Linked DNA regions of Homo sapiens: all the other regions are linked to region 4. The links are contacts of gene promoters, found by promoter capture Hi-C in blood cells and fetal thymus (Javierre and others, 2016). All regions are on one chromosome and are shown on one strand. The core of a region is centred on a gene start or on the middle of the fragment in contact, and the rest is flanking DNA. Distances in the headings are between cores, read along the strand shown.

The links. Contacts are between HindIII fragments. The CHiCAGO score rates a contact against its expected background, and 5 or more counts as called.
Region 1: a contact is called between a fragment that was not itself captured here and the fragment with the promoter of CTDSP2-AS1 in region 4, in 1 of 17 cell types (non-activated CD4 T cells). The highest score is 5.3, in non-activated CD4 T cells.
Region 2: a contact is called between a fragment that was not itself captured here and the fragment with the promoter of CTDSP2-AS1 in region 4, in 2 of 17 cell types (naive CD4 T cells and naive CD8 T cells). The highest score is 5.6, in naive CD4 T cells.
Region 3: a fragment that was not itself captured here is called in contact with the fragment with the promoter of CTDSP2-AS1 in region 4 in 6 of 17 cell types (non-activated CD4 T cells, total CD8 T cells, M0 macrophages and 3 more); the score reaches 7.0 in non-activated CD4 T cells.

Annotation. Positions count from the first base shown.
Region 1 is chr12:57,470,331-57,473,181 of GRCh38, reverse strand. GLI1 (GLI family zinc finger 1) reads right to left here. Exons shown (of 12, transcript NM_005269.3): 12 at 914-2,851. The coding sequence ends at 1,121. It overlaps ARHGAP9 (Rho GTPase activating protein 9), which reads left to right. Exons shown (of 18, transcript NM_032496.4): 18 at 494-913. The coding sequence ends at 665. Among named protein-coding and RNA genes, the nearest start is that of ARHGAP9, 8.1 kb to the left of the region's middle. The HindIII fragment of the contact is 4,786 bases long and covers 1-2,851 here.
Region 2 is chr12:57,535,960-57,538,659 of GRCh38, reverse strand. All of the region lies in intron 2 of DCTN2 (dynactin subunit 2), which reads left to right. Among named protein-coding and RNA genes, the nearest start is that of DCTN2, 9.9 kb to the left of the region's middle. The HindIII fragment of the contact is 2,781 bases long and covers 1-2,647 here.
Region 3 is chr12:57,571,786-57,574,634 of GRCh38, reverse strand. It overlaps KIF5A (kinesin family member 5A), which reads right to left. Exons shown (of 29, transcript NM_004984.4): 14 at 2,368-2,574; 15 at 1,909-2,055. Among named protein-coding and RNA genes, the nearest start is that of PIP4K2C, 18 kb to the left of the region's middle. The HindIII fragment of the contact is 3,828 bases long and covers 1-2,849 here.
Region 4 is chr12:57,835,692-57,838,391 of GRCh38, reverse strand. CTDSP2-AS1 (CTDSP2 antisense RNA 1) reads right to left here and starts at 1,301. Exons shown (of 2, transcript NR_188077.1): 1 at 1,178-1,301. The region is part of intron 1 of CTDSP2 (CTD small phosphatase 2); the gene reads left to right. RefSeq lists enhancers at 1-41, 102-211, 1-412, 1,002-1,071. The HindIII fragment of the contact is 9,495 bases long and covers 1-2,700 here.

The sequences.
Region 1 (2,851 bases), core at 216-2,715, 370 kb after region 4:
CTCAGCCTCCCAAAGTGCTGGGATTACACCGTGCCCGTCAAAGACTTTAGGTCAAAACCTAAAGGTCAGCATCAAGTGGGGAAATGGAACCAAGATGCTGTGAAAGGAATAAGGGAAATCTTACTTCTCCCTTCCCTCTGCCTCTTTGTCTCCCATTGGGACATTGCTGATGGCTTCTTTGGTTGAACTGGGCCTGGGCAGTGACTTCTGAGAGAGGATGGCCACTTGAATTAAAGACTCCCAAACTGTGAGCAGGCAGAACTCTTGGGGCAGCCCCTGAAGTCGGAAGAGGCAGTTATATCTTCAGGTTGTATCCTGAAGGTTTCTCCACTGGTCCATCTCCATTCTCCTTGTATCTCCTTGGTTTTTTTGTTACCATGTGGAGGAATCCCAGAGTGAACTCTTCCCTGCTCAGAACTTTGAAGGGTTAGTTAGATTGCTATGAAGTGGCAAGCTGCTGCCATATATCCCCTTCCTTGGCCTTTGCTTACAGGGTGATAGCACACTCAGATAAGAATCGCATGACACCCCACAACCTGGGAATTGTGTTTGGACCAACCCTGTTTCGGCCAGAGCAGGAGACATCTGACCCAGCAGCCCATGCTCTCTACCCAGGGCAGCTGGTCCAGCTGATGCTCACCAACTTCACCAGCCTCTTCCCCTGATGCAGGGAAGGAAGAAGAGAAAACATATTTCCGGTCATCTCTGGTGGTGAGAGGCTGGTGTTCTGTTTTGAGGATATCCCTTTAAATCTCCCAAATGACTGTCTCTATCTTCATGAGTGTGACTTGAGGTGTTGGGATGGGTGAGGGAGCTTCTCTAAAGAGGAAAGTGAGTGGATTAACCCCTGCTTCTCTTCTTGTTCCCTGTTATCATTCCTCCCCAACATAATAATACATAAAGTGGCATGGTATTTTTTCTGATGCAGTTCCTTTATTATCAGGAAACAGTGTCATTATCAAATTTCTCCTCAAAACGTATACAGACTATACATAGCCCCCAGCCCATACCTCCCATCCCTGGGGCATCTTGTGCATGGGACTGCAGCTCCCCCAATTTTTCTGGAAGGATAGAAACCCCTTAGGAAATGCGATCTGTGATGGATGAGATTCCCTACTCTTTAGGCACTAGAGTTGAGGAATTCTGTTTCCCCAGGTAGGGATCTCAGTAAGACACTCATGTTGCCCACAGCCATGTTGGGGGGCCCAGAGGGAGGTGGGGTATGTCCAGAGCTGCCCCGCTGATCATGGGAAGGAGGAGGACTCAGCCCCTGGGGCTCATCCAGAATAGCCACAAAGTCCAGCTGAGTGTTGTCAAGATCAAGAGAGTCCAGGGGGTTACATACCTGTCCTTCGGGAGGAGGGTACAAGGCAGGACCCCCTCCTAGCCTGCCCACCTCAGGATGACCACAGCTGGGGTTTGTGCCTCCCACTTTGAGAGGCCCATAGCAAGTGGGCAATGGGGGCAGAAGTCGAGGTGGTGCTGCTGCCCTATGTGAAGCCCTATTTGCCCCCACTACAAAATTTTCATGGCATGGTGAAGGGGTGGGATAGGAACCTGACTTGTGATTGGGCAAGTTGGGTCCAAAGCCAGGTCCATATGTGTTCACTGGAGCTTTAGCACGGCTTGGGCTAACCTGGGAACCCCCCAGAAACTTGGGACTCTGGTAGGAAGGTTCCTGGGCGGGGGCATCTTCCCTGCCCCCACCCTCCCACAGTAGCTCCTGTTGAGATTGAACATAATTACACACAAGCTGAGCCTTGAGCTGCCCTGTGGAATGGGTGGGGGAATCAAAGTCCAGGCAAGGCCTGGGTTCTGAAGGAAGATAATCAGGGGGTGGCTGGGTATAGGGGCCTGACTGGAGATATTGGGGAGGAGAGGGCTGGGGGTAATGGGAAAAGAGAGGCTGTGGATGTGGGGGCCCCTCACTGGGGTGGGCATTGAGGCAGGGTGCCAGTCCTGTGGAGTCAGACCCCACTGGGCACCCCTGTTCTGGCTTGACTTGCACTTGTCCATAATGTTCAAGTCGAGGACACTGGCTGTAGGTTCCACCTAGAGCCTTGGGGCCTGGGTACAGCCCAGAGTGGGAAGGGAACTCACCCCATGTTTCTTGGGTGGGGTCAGGATATGAGGCCTGCTGGGGACAGGGGTTGGGGCCATAGTTGGTGGGTGGACCAGGCCCAAGAGGCAGAGAGCCTGGACCCCTCGCTCCATAAGGCTCAGCTGCTGCCCCTTCAGGTCCCCCATATCCCAGAGTATCAGTAGGTGGGAAGTCCATATAGGGGTTCAGACCACTGCCCACCATGGAGGTCCCAACTTCTGGCTCTTCCTGTAGCCCTCTAGCATCCATGGCAGCATTCTCAGTGATGCTGGGGGGCTGTGGTGAGTAGACAGAGGTTGGGAGGTAAGGATCAAAGTTCTGTCCTCCCCCTGCCACAGTGGGTGGGGTATGGACACAGCCCAGGCTCTTGAACCTCTGGACTCTAGCTGGAGCAGGACGGTCAGCAGCCTGGGCTGGGTCACTGGCCCTCCGGGTGACCCCTGCATTGGGGTTGTATCCTGGATACTCGGCTCGGCTTCTCCAAGGAGGCATGGGAAGACCACCTATCCGATCCAGGCTGGATGCTGCAGTGGGCGAAGTACCACCCCCTCTGGCTGAAGCATATCTTGCCCGAAGCAGGTAGTGCTGGGCAGGCATAAGGCCAGGCAGGGAGGATGCTCCATTCTCTGGTGGGGAGCCAGGGGGGAAAGGAGAGGCCAGGGAGGAGCGGCGGCTGACAGTATAGGCAGAGCTGATGCTGCTGGAGCTGCTGCTGCGGCGTTCAAGAGAGACTGGGGGGCCCACGCGGCG
Region 2 (2,700 bases), core at 8-2,507, 300 kb after region 4:
TGGAAGACTGTCATGTAGTGCATGTGACAATTTGCTAATAACAATTTTGTCTTTTTTTTCCCTCCCTCATCCCCATTCCCCCACTCCCTTTCCTTTTAACTCTTTTGATTTTCTCACCTCTGGGGAAACCACAAGGAGCTGGTAAGAAGCCTGACCTTTCATCTGCTTTTTAACGGGGTGTGCTATGATGAGCAGTTGTTTCTCTGTCCTTTAGACTCTACTAAATCTTTCATTCATCTATTCAGTCCCACACCCAGCCTTTTCCTATCTCACAAGTCACTGTAATTATACTGCCCCCAACTCATGCCCCAGATCTTCAAGACACTGCTGGAGTAGGTGCTACTGGAGGACTAGAGTGTGCTCCCGGGCCACAGCCTTGGAGAGGCTCCAGAGGATGCCAGCGCCAGGTAGCCCAACTGGCCCAGGACACTCTCCCACAGCAGGAATGAAAATGCTCTCTGTCCCTGTGACTGTCCAGAACCTCTGAGACTCACCGTCTATGTGTTGACCCTCTTCTACTCCCCGCTTTCCCTACTTAGGAACGTAAATAAGAAAGTAGGTTCCATCTGCATAGTGCCCGCCCATAATAAGGGCTTAACAAATGGTAGCTATGATTAATTTTTTTCCTGGGTCTGTAGGTTATGCCTCCCATTCCTCTTTTTTAAGAGGATTAAACAAAAGAGGATGGGTGGGATTGGCCTGGATTGGGGCTTTCACAGGGAGAAGTGGCATATTCCTGAGTATGAACTTCAGAGAAGATGGTTGTCTATCCTTAGCCTGAGCCCTTCCCAGTTGATAAGAGGCCAGAGATCACACAGCTATTAGATGGGTGGGTGTTCTGGCCGTAACATTTCAGAACAGGTTAAAGAGATAATCATTTGGGACTCAAATGTCTCTCCCCCCGGGCACTTGCATATGGGACATTGAGTCCTTTTGTTTTCCCTTGATCTATAGCTCTTACCCCTCTGCCCAGTAATTCCCTGAGGAAGAGGTAAAGATCAAAGTTGATACTTTGTCCTTTCCTTCCTTCTTCCCTTATTTTTAAAGCTGTCACCCACACTGATTCCTGCTCTAATAGCAGAGCAGAGATGAAGGAAGGAGCTTCCTTCTATCTGCTTTTCTTTCTCAATGATGTCCCACCATGTCCCCCTCACACCCTCTCCCCACATACCTACACACAGGCAGAGATTCTCAGTCCTGGCTGTAGGTTAGAATCACCTGGATATCTGGCCCTACCCCAGAATAATTCATTAGAATCTCTAGAAGTGGGCCCAGGCCTTTTTTTTTTTTTTTTTTTCTTTTCTCTCTCTCTCTTTTTCTTTTTTTGAGACAGGGTCTCACTCTGTTGCCCAGGCTGGAGTGCAGTGGCATGATCTCTGCTCACTGCATCCTCCACCTGCCAGGCTCAAGTGACCCTTCCACCTCAGCCTCCTGAGTAGCTGGGACCACAGGCACGTGCCACAATACCCAGCTATTTTATATTTTTTGTAGAGTTGGGGTTTCCCTATGTTGCCCAGGCTGGTCTTGAACTCCTGAGATCCACCCGCCTTGGCCGAACTTTGGGAGGCCGAGGCGGGTGGATCACTTGGAATTAGGATCCTCCCAAAGTGCTGGGACTACAGACAGGCTTGAGCCACCATTGCCCGGCTGTCTATTTAAAAAAAAAAAAAAATTATAAGTGATTCTAACATGCAGCCTGGGGTGAGAACCATTGTTCTAGGTGAAAGAAGGAAGGCTCATTTTGCCTTCCTCCCATAGAAGGTAGAGATGTCATCCCCAACAGAAAAGGACTCCTGGGTCTCCCTCCTACTTCCATCAGTACTCTGTTGGGAGCTGTCAGGCTTCTGACAATTGAAAAAGGGACATGCAGTCAGGAGTGCTTGGTGCAGTCTTGGTGTTGTCACTGGAATCTGAACAGCATGTAGATATCTAGTAAGGAGGGAACCTCTCTGCTTCAGTTTCTAGGGTGAAGTCTCTTTCACCGCCTACTTGTGTCCCCTGTTTTTGGAAGAGCTTCAGTGCTTAAAGCATAGCAGAGGAGTCAGGGAGAAAAATCAGGTGCTGCAGCGTCTCTGAAGAGATGCTGGTTTATCTCCATTTCAGAGCTTACATGTGGCTCTTGCCCATGGATACTCTTGGCAAGCAGATATTGCCTATGTTTGTTGCTTCTAAGATGTCCCATAAAGATAATCCAGTAAGCCCTTGCCCCTTCTCCCTGTCCCTGAGTTCGCTGGCCTCATGGCAGCCTGGAAATCAGGCTTCTGGTCAGGCCCTCTGTCGGCCTTCTTTTTGTACTAAGAGCTTGTGTCTTACCTTCAACAGGTTTAAAGTCCTAATATTCACACTCAGTGTTAGTGGCCTGATTATCTGCCTTCCCTCCTCTTTCCTTCTAGCAAGGATGGGAGGTTAGCATTAAAATGGACTTGCTCAGCGGGCAAGATTTACTTTTGGGAGGGGGAGGTTAAAAGAGGTCAGGTTGGTTTCTTGCCTTGAGTGCATGGCGTGTGCCAGACAACTGGGAGGGGTAGCATGGGGGGATGGGAAGGCTTATGTACAGAGAGGGTGGGGAGGTTATGCTCCCTCTGCTCCCAGTTGAATGAGGGTGTTAATATTTATACAACTGAGGCTCCAAATTTACCAGGAAGCTTCAGTTTCCTAGGTTAAGCCTGGGTAGGCGCCTTGGAATAGAGCCACCCTTCT
Region 3 (2,849 bases), core at 264-2,763, 260 kb after region 4:
ACTCCAGCCTGGGCGACAGAGTGAGACTCCATCTCAAAAAAAAAAAAAAAAAATCCAATTCTGGGCCGGGCTCGGTGGCTCACGCCTGTAATCCCAACACTTTGGGAGGCCGAGGTGGGTGGACTACGAGGTCAGGAGTTCGAGACCAGCCTGGCCAATATGGTGAAACCCTCTCTCTACTAAAAACATAAAAAATTAGCCAGGAGAGGTGGTGTGTGCCTGTAGTCCCAGCTACTCGGGAGGCTGAAGCAGAAGAATTGCTTGAACCTGGGAGGCGGAGGTTGCAGTGAGCTGAGATCACACCACTGCACTCCAGCCTGGGCAACAGAGCAAGACTCCATCTCAAAAAAAAAAAAAAATCCAATTCTGACAGTCCCCCACTTACAAATAAATCTTATAAAGCAACATGATTTTCTTTTGATCTCCTTGATCACCCAGATTATTCTCACATCCACAGATTTGCATATTTCATTCTGAACTCTGTGCCTATGCCCCACCTCTAACTCCTACTGCAAGCACTGCTCTGTTGCTGCTGCTTTTTTTTTTTTTTTTTGAGACAGAGTCTCCCTCTGTCACCCAGGCTGGAGTGCAGTGCCGCATCTCTGCTCACTGCAAGCTCCGCCTCCCAGGTTCACGCCATTCTCCTGCCTCAGCCTCCTGAGTAGCTGGGACTACAGGCGCCCGCCACCATGCCTGGCTAATTTTTTGTATTTTTTTAGTAGAGACAGGGTTTCACTGTGTTAGCCAGGATGGTCTCAATCTCCTGACCTCGCCTCGGCCTCCCAAATTTTTTTTTTTTTTTTTTTGAGACGGAGTTTCACTCTTGTTGCCCAGGCTGGAGTGCAATGGTGCAATCTCGGCTCACTGCAACCTCCGCCTCCAGGTTCAAGCGATTCCCCTGCCTCAGCCACGTGAGTAGCTGGGATTACAGGCATGAGCCACCACACCCGGCTAATTTTATATTTTTAGTAGACACGGAGTTTCTCCATGTTGAACAGGCTGGTCTCGAACTCCTGACCTCAGGTGATCCACCCGCCTCGTCCTCCCAAAGTGCTGGGATTACAGGCGTGAGCCACCATGTACAGCCTCTTTTTTTTTTTTTTTAAGACAAGGTCTGGCTCTGTCACCCAGGCTGGATTGCAGTAGCTCAATCATGTCTCACTGCAGCCTCAACCTCCCATACTCAGGTGATTCTCCCACCTCAGCCTGTCAAGTAGCTGGTACTATAGGTGTGTGCCACCACCCCCAGCTAATCGTTTGTATTTTTTGTAGAGATAGGGTTTCACTATGTCACCCAGGCTGGTCGTGAACTCCTGGGCTCAAGCGATCCGCCTGTCTCAGCCTCCCAAAATGTTGGGATTACAGGCATGAACCACCATGCCTGGCCTCCATTGCTTCTTTATTCAGCACCCGTTAGAATTTAGTTTTGTTTTGTTTTGTTTTTAAGGCAGAGTCTCACTCTATAACCCAGGCTAGAGTGCAGTGGTGTGATCTCAGTTCACTGCAACCTCTACCTCCCAGGTTGAAGCGATTCTCCTGCCTCAGTCTCCTGAGTAGCTGGAATTACAGGTGCACATCACCACGCCTGGCTAATTTTTGTATTTTTAGTAGAGACAGGGTTTCGCCATGTTGGCGAGGTCAGGTCTCGAACTCCTGACCTCAAGTGATCCGCCTGCCTCGGCCTCCCAAAGTGCTGGGATTACAGCGGTGAGCCACTGCGCCCAACCTAGAATGTATCTTTTCAATTGGGTCTATACAAGCCTCTACCTGTCTTCCTGGGTCTAGTTCAAAGGCATGTTTCCTGGCTCTCTGGCTGCCTTTCTCAGTATCTGTGAAGGCCTGGATGGCTCATCTTGCGTCTTCCACTAGTGCCCAGCCTGAACAAGGCTGCTGTCTCTCACCACTCACCAGCTTAATCTCCCCGTTGCCCACAATGACACTGAACTCGCTCAGATCCTTCATCAGCCCGTTCAGCACCTCAGCAATTCGTTTTCGCTGGTGTCCACTGACCTCCTGTAGCCGCTGCAACTCAGACTCCAGGGACAGCATGGTGGCCTGGGGACAGCCCCTCAGGTCATTCCTGTTGCCATCCTCCTGCTCCCTTGCCCAGCCCAGGCAGAGGCCTCTCCCTTCATGCAAGACCCTGAGGGCTGCTATGAAGAGAACACAGGCCCTGCAGAAGAGTCTGAAAGACAGAGGGACTGTGAGGGGAAAGTGCAGTGACAGGGTTGGGGAGGGACTCACAATGCACTGAACAGCAGTGCAGAGGTGCAGCCACCATACAGCCCTGGAAGGATGCAGAGGTCCCCTCGACATGGGAGATGTTCTGTGGTCAGGGAGCTGTTGGACCATTGGCACACCACTTACCACCTTCTGAGACAGCTCATCCACCAGAAGCTGGTTCTGCTGGCTCTTCTCCTCCACCTCCTGGGACTTCTGGTCATAGTTCACAGCCAGCTCCTCCAGGGCCTGCAGCACTTCCTTCACCTCATCCTTAGCGGCATCGTTCTCTGATTGCAGGTGGCTCAGCTCCCGCTGGACCTTCTCGTTGTCTCCTCGGGTGGACACCAGCAGCTTCAAGGGAGAGGAGTGGCATGTGGGAAAGATCACTGCCAGTGACCATTTCTATGGCCTTGGGTCTGGGAAGCTGAGCCCCCACCCTACCCAAAATAAAGAGTTAAGAGGAAGTGGGCTTTAGGTTTCATAGAAATAGGGCAACAGAATGAAGAATGAAGAAGCCCCCAGACTTTAAAATTTGTGCTTTAAGAAAAGCCCCAGCCGGGCGCAGTGGCTCACGCCTGTAATCCCAGCACTTTGGGAGGCCTAGGTGGGCACATTGCCTGAGCTCA
Region 4 (2,700 bases), core at 52-2,551:
TCCCTCACAATGATACCTTTGCTCTGGCTGGTGCTACATAGGGCAGGGTCTCCTGCTGAGGCAGGGGCAGGATCCAGTCCTTTGAGTTTTCTTGGATGGCATCTCAGGCTTGTCCCTGCTGCCCTGTGGGCTATTAGATCACTTCCTGACATCCCTCAAGAGTCCTCTGGAGTGGGGCTTGCAGGGCTGAGCCTGCAGCTGACTTGTCTATGAGGAAACGCCTCCTCTGTCTCTGGTCCAGGATCTGCTACTTATGGAGGCCCACCCCAACCCAGCACGTTTTTAAAGTACGTTGGAGCTGCCCAGGAGGGTGTTTTGGCAATACCTCCTTTAGAGGCTGATTCTGAAATCAGCGTGCTTTAGAACTGCCAGAAATCCCCTGCTCCCAAAACTGAGTCCTCTTACCTCTCTAGCTGAGGTCAGAGAACAGATTGCTGAAGGGGCAGAGACAAGAAAGTGTGTGACCTGTGACCCTCGCCCCACAGGTGGCATTAAGGACTCAGGTCTGAAAGAAGAGACAGCCATATAGGGAGCTCTCCTGCCCAGGGAAAGGGAACTAATGGAGACACTGGCTTAGGTAGAGCTGCCCCAGTTGCTGGTGCAGAGAGGGCACCAGCATACAACATGCTGGTATGGGCCAAACAGCATGGCTAAAACTGCTTTTTAATTTTTTAAATTTTATTTATTTATTTATTTATTTTGAGACAGAGTTTTGCTCTGTCCCCCAGGCTGGAGTGCAATGGTGTGATCTCGGCTCACTGCAACCTCCACCTCTTGGATTCAAGTGATTCTCGTGCCTCAGCCTCCGGAGTAGCTGGGATTACAGGAGCTCACTACCATACCCTGCTAATTTTTGCATTTTTAGTAAAGATGGGGTTTCACCATATTGGTCATGCTGGTCTCGAACTTCTGACCTTAAGTGATCCCCACTGCCTTTGCCCCCCAAAGTGTTAAAACTGCTTTTTTCAAAAAATGCCCATGCAGTTAGATACACAGCTACTTTTTGGAACTTCGGGAGCCGGTGCTAAGCTGGGTCCGGCCCTGCCTTGCTTGTTAGCTGTAGAGAACAGTGTCAGTGGCCAGGCATGAAAGCAGTACACCCTCCCCATTGTTTGCAGTCTTTTGTGTGTGGGGGCTGTCTAGGCATCTCACCCTCTTTTGTTCCCTGCCGACTCACCTGCTGGTCCCAGGAGCTCTTCCGTCCACCTGGCACTTTAGGGCATGTCCATAGCCAAGGAACAGATGCCCCTTGCAGAGGACCTGGGAGGACTTCTCTCCATGGGGGAGTCCCAGTCAAATGTGTCTTGGCTGCAGGGTTCAGGCAGCCGTCCAAGAAGGGCCGGAAATGCTCCAAATACTCTCCTTCCTCCAATAGCTGAGAGGAAGGAGGCCCCTCAGAGGGGCCATTTTATAGTGATAGCCAGGCTAAGGCTAAGTCCTTTGCTGTGGGGGATGGGAGGTGGTGGGGAAGGAAGTACTTCTGGGGATGAACCAAAAAAGAAAGCAACTTTCTACCTGAATGGGCTTGTTAAAATCTGATTGTCTCAGAGGTTACCTTCTGCTGAATCGCAGGCAGATGTGTGAGGAGTTCCTTTGCTGGGACACAAAGCTGTGTTGTTGACAAAAGTGGTATCTGGACCTGACTTTCAGGAGAAGATTAAAAACAGTGTTGCCCTGGTCACTCTGGTCTTCGTTTGTGTGTATGTGTGCACGTGTTCACGTGTTTGTACATGTACACTTTTTTTTTTTAAAGACAAAATCTCACTCTGTCACCCAGGCTGGAGTGCAGTGGTGCAATCACGGCTTACCGCAGCCTCAAACTCCTGGGCTCCGGTGATTCTCCCACTTCAGCCTGCCAAGCTGGGACTGCAGGTGCACCTGGCTAATTTTTTTTTGGTAGAACAGGATTTTGCCATGTTGCTCAGGCTGGTCTTGAACTCCTGAGCTGCAGTGATCCAACCGGCCCAGCTTCCCAAAGTGCTGGGATTACAGGCTTGAGCCACCTACCCCGGCCCATGCATAGGGGCAAATAGTGTCCTTACCTGGTACTTCTTGAGAGTAGTGGGGATGAATACCAGGGGAGACAGCGATTTTTGTCTCAAGTGAAACAGTCTTACTTGCTTTTGTTTTTCACAGAATACCCAGTCAGGGAGTTTGTGAGCTGGAAAACAAATTTTGTTGTGGACTTGGGAGAAGGTATAGGGGCTATTTTGACTTTCTGAAACCTGCTCATGATCAGAGCTCTCAGGCACCTTTCCCTCATCTTCTTGGGCTTCATCCACGTGATGATGGTGGGAGGGCTCCTGGTCTGTTGCTGGCCTCCTGGAATGAGGCCCATGATGTTGCCATTTAGTGGTCATCTCCCCTTGGATAATTAATTAAAACAAGCGCAGCATTTAGCTTTAGAGTTAGCACAGTGCCTTACTCTCTAACTTCGTTTATCCTTTCAGTCCTGAGTGAGGGCTTGCTGTTATCCCAGTTTATGGATGAGGAAACTAAGGCTCCAAAAGGCTGTGTGGCTGAGTCAGTAACTGGCAGAGCCTGGACCCCAGCCCTGATGATCCTCAGTGGGGGCATACTCCTCACATCCCCTCTTCTCCTCACACCCCGCCTCAGTAGGAAGACTCGCAGCAGTGAGCTGGATGGCTGGCCTGGTTTCCCTGTCTTCAGCCACCAGCTCACTTTCTTCTTAAGCCAGAG